Regions from separate parts of the Homo sapiens genome. Here region 2 is linked to region 1. The links are contacts of gene promoters, found by promoter capture Hi-C in blood cells and fetal thymus (Javierre and others, 2016). All regions are on one chromosome and are shown on one strand. Each heading gives the region's core, a stretch centred on a gene start or on the middle of the fragment in contact. The rest is flanking DNA. Distances are from core to core; before and after follow the strand shown. Region 1 holds the start of CNTRL (centriolin). Region 2 overlaps C5 (complement C5).

Evidence for each region. The method cuts DNA at HindIII sites, captures the fragments that hold promoters and counts their contacts. A CHiCAGO score of 5 or more calls a contact.
Region 2: a contact is called between a fragment that was not itself captured here and the fragment with the promoter of CNTRL in region 1, in 2 of 17 cell types (naive CD8 T cells and naive CD4 T cells). The highest score is 5.2, in naive CD8 T cells.

What each region holds. Positions count from the first base shown.
Region 1 is chr9:121,072,128-121,077,275 of GRCh38, forward strand. CNTRL (centriolin) reads left to right here and starts at 2,828. Exons shown (of 44, transcript NM_007018.6): 1 at 2,828-2,940. It also overlaps a transcript of C5 not described here. RefSeq lists enhancers at 1-49, 2,403-2,792 and silencers at 2,092-2,288, 2,913-2,972, 3,093-3,232. The HindIII fragment of the contact is 4,047 bases long and covers 1-3,800 here.
Region 2 is chr9:121,023,428-121,028,440 of GRCh38, forward strand. It overlaps C5 (complement C5), which reads right to left. Exons shown (of 41, transcript NM_001735.3): 8 at 3,733-3,847; 9 at 2,027-2,153; 10 at 1-92. Among named protein-coding and RNA genes, the nearest start is that of C5, 24 kb to the right of the region's middle. The HindIII fragment of the contact is 5,010 bases long and covers 1,143-5,013 here.

The DNA.
Region 1 (5,148 bases), core at 1,578-4,077:
GCAGAGGTCTGTATGAGGAGGAAAAGGGGGCAACATGGGACCGGTGAGTGCCCATCCGCGGCTAACTGGATACGGACTGAGAGATCACCCAAGAGAAAAGTGTTTTGCGCCACCCTCTGGACTTTTTATGTATATTTGATGGCTATTAATTGATACTAATATGATTGATAATGAACTACATCAGCACACCACGGCTTGATAATGGATCCCACGTGAATACCATTACAGACTTTGAGGGACACAGCAATGAGGTTACGCAATAAATCTAAGTTTCTGGGTACAAGAAACCGAAACGATGGGTGTCAAAACATATGCAAATAGAACTGAAACTCAGCAACGTACACATTCCAATCTAATAAATATCACCTGAACTTCGATTAAAAATGAATGTAATCTCGGCAGGGCGCGGTGGCTCACGCCTGTAATCCCAGCACTTTGGGAGGCCGAGGCGGGCGGATCACGTGAGGTCAGGAGATTGAGACCAGCCTGACCAACATGGTGAAACTCTGTTTCTACTAAAATACAAAAATTAGCTGGCCTTGGTGGTGCGTGCCTGTAATCCCAACTCCTCGGGAGGCTGAGGCAGGAGAATCGCTTGAACCCGGGAGGCGGAGGTTGCACTGAGCCGAGATCCTGCCACTGCACTCCAGCCTGGGTGACAGAGCCAGACTCTGTTCAAAAAATTAAAAAAAAAAAAAAAAAAAAGAAAAGAAAAAAAATGAATGTAATCTCCTCTTAAGTGGAGCTTTTCAAAAATTCTGCGTTTAAACTCCAAGGGCTTCGTTCTGTGTCGTGTAAATAGTTGGGGAGAGGACAGCACCATTCACTTAAATGTCAATGGGAATCACATTTAAGTAAAAGGAAAAGGAAATCAGTAAATCAAAGTAAATCAAAGACACATCTGCATCCCCATGTTTATTGCAGCTTATTCCCTGTTGGACGTCCCCTGAATTTCCTATAGAGGTGAAGCCATCTCTGCCTTAAGGAAAAATGAAGTGCCTAATACTGCTTATAATATGGTCCCTTTTCCAGATTTAGCTTCTCCACCCCAGATTTTTGCACAAGCCATACTGAACTACTTCATGTTTCCATACTCATGTTTTGTTCCAGCCACACTGAATTACTTAACATTCAGCACATTGCCAAGCTCTTTTCCCCCGCTTCCGGGGTTTGCACAAGTTGTTCCCTTTGCCAAGCAAATTCTTCCCCACCTCCCTACTCCTTGCCTAAACTCTTCTTTTGGGCGTAGAAAGAAGTATTGCTTCTGGGTAACCTTTGTCTAATAATGAAATATCTAAGACATATTGAGAACTTACTATGGGTCCCTCACTGTTCTAAGTTCTTTCACAGAGATTCACTTTTATAATTATCAGGAAAACTGGACTTTTTTTTTTTTTTTTTTTTTTTGAGATGGAGTCTCGCTCTGTCGTCCAGGCTGGAGTGCAGTGGCGCGATCTCGGCTCACTGCAACCTCCGCCTCCCGGGTTCAAGCGATCCTCCTGCAGCCTCTCAAGCAGCTGGGATGACAAGCGTGCGCCACCACGCCCGGGTAATTTTTGTATTTTTAGTAGAGACGGCGTTTCACCTTGTTGGCCAGGCTGATCTTGAATTCCTGACCTCAAGTGATCCTCCCACCTTGGTCTCCCAAAGTGCTGGGATTACAGGCATGAGCCACAGCGCCCGGCCAGGATTCACTTTTATAATTATCAGGAAAACTGTAGGAAGTGTTAATAGGTAAAAGGACCTCATTTCATAGATAAGGAAACTGAGACACAGAGAGAGAGGGAGTTTCTAAAAGTGTTATACAGGTGGCCTATAAACTCTGTAGTGAAGAAAGGAAATGAAGACAGGATAGAATGATCGCGAGAAAATGGTAAGAACAAGGGACTGGAAGACGCAAGGAAGTTTAGAAATACGCTGGCATAGGGGTCTTTTGAGCAGGCACGCTGCTAAGATGATAGGATTATAGTCAAGGATGGGGAGCGATTGCACTGGGGATTTCTGGAGCGGGTGCAGCCTCTGATGGTAACATGGTCCAGGGTATACCTTCAAAACGGGAGGCTACTGGAGTGAAAGGCGTCAATGGTGATAACACTTTAAAAAAAACTTCAGTGTTTCCCTAGCATCCAGCCCAGTATCTGCTAAATTCTTTAAAATATCTGTTGAATGCATGTCGTGAACGCCGTGCTCATGGGCAAGCCCCAGATGAAGCCTGTGCAAGTGCTTCTTGCTTTAACTCCCTTGTAGCAATCAGAGGAACATCCTCTGCCTAGGATTCCCAAGCTCCCTGAACCTCACGCGACAGCTGGAGCCCAGGCTGCGTCCGCTTTGAGGTTCATCCGAGCCTGGGCAGTTCGGTCCCTGGAGGGAATTCGCTTTAGATACGACTGTCAGAGAGAAGTGTGCTGATAAGAACACTCGCTCATAGCGCGCAAGCATCAGAAGTGGGGGAGGCCGGGGAGGCGCTGCGCCGGTGCCTCAGGCCGTCCTCGGACACAGGCCCTGAGAAGCGTGTCCGTGTTTCAGAGGGTGGCGGCGGCAGCTTTGTCTCAGCGAAGGCCACAGCACTGCGGGCAGCTGCCGCATGAAACCTCGGCTCCCCCTGACTCTGCACCCGACACTTCACCTGCAACGCAATCCGAAGGCGAAGGCACCGCATCCCGTCGGCCCCGCGCGGCCGGAAGCCTCGCGCCCAAGACTCCCCGGCATCCTAGCGCGCTGGCTGCAAAAGAGGCGGGAAACGCCTCCGCGTCCCTTCCAACAGTACCGGAGAGGGAGAGGGGCGTGGCTGAGACTAGCCCCGACCACGCGCGCGCGGCCCCTCGGCAACCGGCACAACACAACAAAATGGCTGCCGCGCCGCTGGGCCCCTGAGGAAAGAGCCCGAACTTCTCCCGCTCTACCTCAGCCTGCGGGACTGCTCGGCTCGGCTTCTAGGCGGTGAGCGTCAGACCTGGCCGAGCCCGTTCCCCGGCATCCGGCCCGAGCAGTGGGGGCCGGCGGCAAAGGCGGGAAGGCCCGGACCGGGCGTGGTGTGGGCCGGCTTGGGATGGATTCGGGGCGGGGGCGCGTGTCTGGGAATTGGGATTGGACGGGAAAGAGGGGAGGGCCCGGAACGGGCGTGGGGCGGTGGATGAAGGAGGGAGGTTTGGATGGGAAGAGGTGGGGACGGCGGGGGCGATTGGGGATGAAGAACCAGAGTGTGGGGAGGTGTGGAAGTTAGGGTGCGGCGCCCAGAAGGTTGTGGGTCCTGCCACCTGAGCTGAGGGGAGAGCTGGGATGTGCCAGCTGTCTGTGGGGAGTGAGCGGGAGAAAGGACAGTTTGGGCGTCCTGACGGGTTGTCACGGTATCGGACGGAGTACAGTGCGTGGAGAAAGATGACAGGATATGGGGACGAAATGCTAAAAGAAGGGGAAGAACAAACACTTCCGTTATATTCGTTAAGGGACTAGAGAATTTTGAAGCCAGACAAACTTGGGTTGAAGCCTCAATTCTGCCACCTTGTGTAACTTAACCAGGTCTGTGACCCTGGATATGTGTCTGAGCCTTCCTGATCATGTTTCCTCATTTGTCCAAATAATTGCGAATCATTTTTGGGTGTTCACTATTTGTCAGATCCAGTTTTAAGCACTTTGCACGTATTAACCTCATTTAGAATTTAAAATAACTTGTATGAGGTTATCATCCCCATTTAAAAAGTGATAGCACTGAGGACCAGAGAGGTTAAGTAATTTGCCTAAGATCACACAGTAAGTGGAAAATCAGAATTTGAACTCAGGCTGTTTCGTTCCAGAATCCAAGCTTTTAACTGTTCAGGTACATTGCCATTTGTAAATCAGGTTAATAATTCTGATCCTATACAGCTAAATCTTTGAGGATTTAAATTTGGTATTGTCTAAGTGTTTAGTACAGTCCTTCAGTCAACAAATATTTATTGTTTATAGAACAACAGACAAAACCTCTGCTCTCTTGTAGCTTATAGTCTAGAAGGAGAAACAGGCAACAACCAAGTAGTTTCACAAATAATGGTTATAAAATGCTATGAAGGAGACTGCTTGGTGCAGAGATCATGGGTAATAGGGAGATAAAATCTTCTGCATCTTGAGCTTAGATTCTAGCATGGTTCTTCCTACATAAAAGTTGCTCAATAAAATTGAATAATTAATGGAAAGAGATGGGAAGCTTGAGTTTTAGGGTATCTGAGCAGAAGAAGAGAGATGGGAGAGGGGATTCAGGCTTTTAATAGGATGGAGAAGGATACGGGGGCTAGAGTATTAGGATGGAAAGGCAAATAGGCAGGCAGTTGGGTTGGGATGAAGAGGAATGGATGGAGGTTTGAGTATTTTGTTTAGGGAGGGGAGTAATTGGAGGTCAGAGTATTGGAACGCATTAGGATGTCAGGGTATTTTCTGGGGTGAAGAGAGATGAGCAGCTTGGGAAGTCTGGATGGATAGAGAAATGTTGAGTCTGGGCACAGGAAAGAACCATAGAGAAATGGGGGAGACTATTACTGTGTTAGGGAACTGGGATAGAATTTGTGGGAAAATTGGCAATCAGAATGGGATAAAGAAGAATGGGAGGCAGAGGTGGGTGGGCAGCACAGAATGGGGGAATTGGCTTTGGAAAGAAAAATGGCTGGAGACTTTGCAGAGGAATCGGAATCAGGATATTTGAAAGGAGGAGAAGATTAAGGAGTAAAAGTATTTCAGTAGGTCAGAGGGTATGGGATGAAGTAGACTTGGAAAGTACTGAAATCCAATTAAAGGGCTAAGGAGAGGGATATGGGGGTTAATAAATGGGGATGGGTATTTGCATATTAGGGAGTCTGTAGAGAGACAGAAGGAGGTCTGCGTTATTTGGAGATCAGAGAAGATGGGAAGTTAGGAAGGTTAGGAAAGGCTGGATGGAGGTGGAGTTTGCAGTCTGTACTAAGCTGTGATGGACTGAATTGTTAGATCAGAGCAACTATCTGGGTTTATAGGTGGCAGGATGGGTAGTGTTTTGTTGCCTGGACGTAGGATTCTGATTATCATGTCATTCCAATGGCTTTCTCTTGCTCTGCAGACAGCCTTTAAAATACAACTGCAGCTCTGAACTTTATTTGCTTTTTTTTTCTCTTTATCCTGCTCCTTTACTCGCCCTAGCCT
Region 2 (5,013 bases), core at 2,398-4,897, 48 kb before region 1:
CTTCAGGAAAAGAGGAGTAGCAACCAAATTCAGTTTGTAGGGAGAGAGGACATATTTGATGCCAGGTATTTCTGCCTCTTCAGAAAATCCACCTAAGGAAATGGCAAGCATCATGTTGACAGTTTTTAGGAGTATCATGATCTGTATGGATATCCATTTCATCTCTATATGTCTCCACAGACTTATTCATTCACTCACTCCATTCTTGCATTCATTCATTTACCAGTAGTAAGTAGGACATAGGTCTTGCTTCAGAGGGGCACAGCAGAGAAGAGTTTAGACCTCAGGAGTTTCCAAGGCCTTATGCACAAGCTCGTATGTAGAGAAGCCCTTGGAGAAGTAGAGCTACAGGACTGGACTGAGGAAGGATGCCAGGAAGGGACACCACTTTTCATCAGTGGCCTGAGTTTCAGTTGACTGTATTCAAGGGATTGAGGAGAGAGGGAAGGGTCAGGCCAGAAACTGAGCCTTACAGAAGTGGAGGTGGGGGATGGGGGTTGGTGTTCACAGAGCATAGATACATAGAGAGAAATCAGAAAAAGGGAGCTTGATATAGAAAGAACCCTGAAAGGGAGTTCGAGACCAGCCGGGCCAACATGGTGAAACCTCATCCCTACTAAAACTAAAAAACGAAAACAAAAAAAGTGCCAGGCATGGTGGTATATGCCTGTAATCTCAGCTACTCGGGAGGCTGAGGCAGGAGAATTGCTTGAACCCAGGAGGCGGAGGTTGCATTGAGCTGAGACTGTACCACTGCACTCCAGTCTGGGCAACAGAGCAAGACTCGGGAGGGGAGGGAGGGAGGGGAGGGGAGGGGGGAGGGGGAGGGGGGAGTGGGAGGGGGGAGGGGGAGGGGAGGGGGAGGGGAGGGGAGCGGGAGGGGGGAGGGGGAGGGGAGGGGGAGGGGAGGGGGAGGGGAGGGAGGGGAGCGGGAGGGGGGAGGGGGAGGGAAGGGGACATGACCAGACAACTGGCAAGAGCCCAATAATGTTATCCTCCAGGTAAAGATTAAGTTAAACTATTAAGAATAACATTTGAAGCTTTAATATTCCCAAACTCCTTTCCAATATTACATCTCTAATACATTCTATACATATCCTATATTTTAGCCAAACTGGATGATCTGCTGTCCTCAAAGATTAAGCTTCACCATCTACTCTTCTTCATCTGCCCTCTCTCTGGAGGGTTTCTATTTCACCCTGTCTAGCAACTCTGCCTCAAAACCCTAATTATTTTTCAAGACTGATCATCTTCACAACACTGTTCTTGCTTGCTCAACAATCATCTAGAAGCTCACCTTCCTCTGAATCCTATTGCATTAATATTTTGCTTAGAGCTCATATGGAATTCTTTCTTGCAACAGTTCTTTCTTCACCTGTCTTATACCTGATGCTAATTTGTAAGCCACTTTAGTGCTGGCATCATACATCATTAATGTTTGCAAGCCTGTCTGTTTGGCAATACTTTAAATATCTCATAGATACTGCTTAAACTGAACTTATTTAAAATAAGTTGAGGAAAAAATAAAAAGAAGAAACATTAAAATAATGTTGAAAACTTTAGGCTTTAGGAAACATTCAGTTTGACTCCATCATTATGTAGACTATAATAATGATAATAGTAATAACTTTTATTTGTATAGTACTTTATCAAATAGTTTTACACACATAATCTTATTTTGGTTTTGATTTTCACCACGTGAGGACACTAGGGTGCCAAATGGTCAAGGCAGAGAGCCTGCAGAACTACTTTGGACATGAATTGGGTACTGTTTTCCCATTTTTGCAGTAGAAGTGGAGGTAATAGGGACCCAATGGCTTGTCCAATGACTAAAAAGAAGCAGAGCCCTACTGCCTTTTTATAACTATATAAAAGTCTACTTCTTATAATTATATTTAACTATGAAAGAAAATACAATGTGAAATAATTATAGAAATTGGAAATTATTTATATCTTTAATATTCTGTCTAAATATTTTTCAAAAGAAAGTATACACACACACACACACACACACACACACACTTACCTGTAGACTCTATGACTGTTACAGCAATATAAAGGTACTTGTTGTTTAAATCTTCTAAACTGTAGTATGACAGTTCTTTGACTGCTGTTTCAGAATCAAATGTGACTTGAGCAATTCCATTTATCAACTTTTTAAAAGGAGAAAAAGGAGGAGTTATTTCGGAGAAGAACTTATAAGGAAAAATTAATAAAATCTGCTTTTACTAACCTCTAAATTGAAGGTAAATGTCAGAAGAATGGTTTAGTGTCAAAAGTAAAGTAGATAACCGAGTCCACGATTAAGCCCAGGATGTTATTTTCTAATTATTTGTATAGAATTATAGAAGTAGAAGGGTCTTGAACATCACATGGTCCAACAGGTCTTTTTGGTAATAGCTGACAAACACGACTTCTTCCAATTCCTGCGTCATCATTCATCTTTATAGGCCTCTCAGCGTACTTCCGCCCTTAACTGAGAGTTTGTTGGTTTTTATAATATTTAATTTGTACTTCACTGCTTACAAATTTAAATACTAATTTTAAAACACACAATGAGTAAAGGGATGTGGGGTTAAGTCATATTATATTATTTAATTATTAACACAACAGTAAAATAAACTTTGCCTTATTTTTTCTTATAAAATTGAGCGACTTGAGGGCAGGCATTTTTGTCTTATTTAGCTTTACATCCCAGTGTCTAGCATAGAATTTTGCATTTTAAAAATGCATTTAATTTACATCTTGAATTAATAAGATTGTAGAGGATAAATGATTGATGATGCAAACCAAATGAATACGAAAAAGTGAGCAAAAATGACATGAACTCATATCATCTGTGGTATAATGTAAAGAATGCTGAATAAGGGAAAGGGAACCAGCGCCCTAATCTCAGTTCCAGCAATCATTAGCCCTAAACTATGGACAAATAACTTCATGAATATTTCCTTGCAAGAAACTATGCTGTCTCTGGGCATATAAGGGAAATGATTCAGACTCACAAATAGTTTAATATTGAAAATGATAGATAAGTAAACAAGCCATTCCAGTAAAGAAGGGTTTCTCAACCCCTCAGCATTATTGACATTTTGAACAGGATAATTCTTTGTTGTAGGGGCCTGCCCTGTGCATGGTAGGAATTTAGCAGCATCCCCGGCCTCTCCCTAGTAAACACCAGTAGCAACCACAAATGTCTCTGGACATTGCCAAATGTCTCCTTGGGAATAAAAAATCACCCCTAGTTGAGAACCGCTGCAATGAAATGTGAAGAATGTGTTAAGAAAAGAGGCTATACAGCCGGGGCAGCTAACCTAGTGTAGAAGAGTCAGGGGAGGCTTCCCAGAGAAAGGCTGTCAATGTTGAAACTTAAAGAATGAGAAGGAATTAGCCAGGCAAAGAAGGGGCAGGAGGTGACAATGGGAAAGAGCATTTTCAAGCAGAATAAATGATATTGTAAAGACCTGGAGGCAAGAGAGACTTTGGTCAGTTAGAGAAATTGGAGTGATTAATACAAAGGGGAGGGAGGGAGGAAAGGGCATGAGATCAGCTGGTAAGGGAGGCTGATGCCAAGGAAAATGAACTTTACCCTAAAGGCAAAGGGAAGCCAATGGAGGATTTTAAGTTTCAACCTATCTAAAATGGGGGATTGGACTAGATGGTTTTTAAGTAACTTCTCATCTCTCACCTCTGGATGCATCTGTAGGTGTGAGTGACTGTGTCTTAACATCTTACCATTGTGTTTTGCATTGCTGTTTGCATCATTTCTTTTTGATCATCTTTTAAGTCTTCTCTTATTCCAAATGTGATATAAACGTCAGCCTCAGTGACTACTTTATTATAAAAATATCTGTCAGACAATAGCATAAAACTGTTTTACTAACATGGTTACAATAACAGGATTCAGATAAAATGTAACAATTTGAAATTACGTAAAGCACTTGAGGCACTTTAAAGTGTCTTTCATCCTAAGCAAAAAGAACAAAGCTGGAGGCATCATGCTACCTGACTTCAAACTATACTACAAGGCTACAGTAACCAAAACAGCATGGTACTGGTACCAAAACAGATATATAGACCAATGGAACAGAACAGAGGCCTCAGAAATAACACCACACATCTACAACCATCTGATCTTTGACAAACCTGACAAAAACAAGAAATGGGGAAAGGATTCCCAATTTAATAAATGGTGATGGGAAAACTGGCTAGCCATATATAGAAAGCTGAAACTGGATCCCTTCCTTATATCTTATACAAAAATTAATTCAAGATGGATTAAAGACTTACATGGTAGACCTAAAACCATAAAAACGCTAGAAGAAAACCTAGGCAATACCATTCAGGACATAGGCATGGGCAAGGATTTCATGACTAAAACACCAAAAGCAATGGCAACAAAAGCCAAAATTGACAAATGGGATCTAATTAAACTAAAGAGCTTCTGCACAGTAAAAGAAACTACCATCAGAGTGAACAGGCAGCCCACAGAATGGAGAAAATTTTTGCAATCTACCCATCTGACAAAGGGCTAATATCCAGAATCTACAAAGAACTTAAACAAATTTACAAGAAAAAAACAAACAACCCCATCAAAAAGTGGGCAAAGGATATGAACAGATACTTCTCAAAAGAAGACATTTATGCAGCTAACAGACACATGAAAAAATGCTCATCATCACTGGTCATCAGAGAAATGCAAATCAAAACCACAATGAGATACCATCTCACACCAGTTAGAATGGCAATCATTAAAAAGTCAGGAAACAACAGATGCTGGAGAGGATGTGGAGAAATAGGAACGCTTTTACACTGTTGGTGGGAGTGTAAACTAGTTCAACCATTGTGGAAGACAGTGTGGCAATTCCTTAAGGATCTAGAACTAGAAATACAATTTGACCCAGTGATTCCATTACTGCGTATATACCCAAAGGATTATAAATCATGCTGCTATAAAGACACATGCACACGTATGTTTACTGCAGCACTATTCACACTAGCAAAGACTTGGAACCC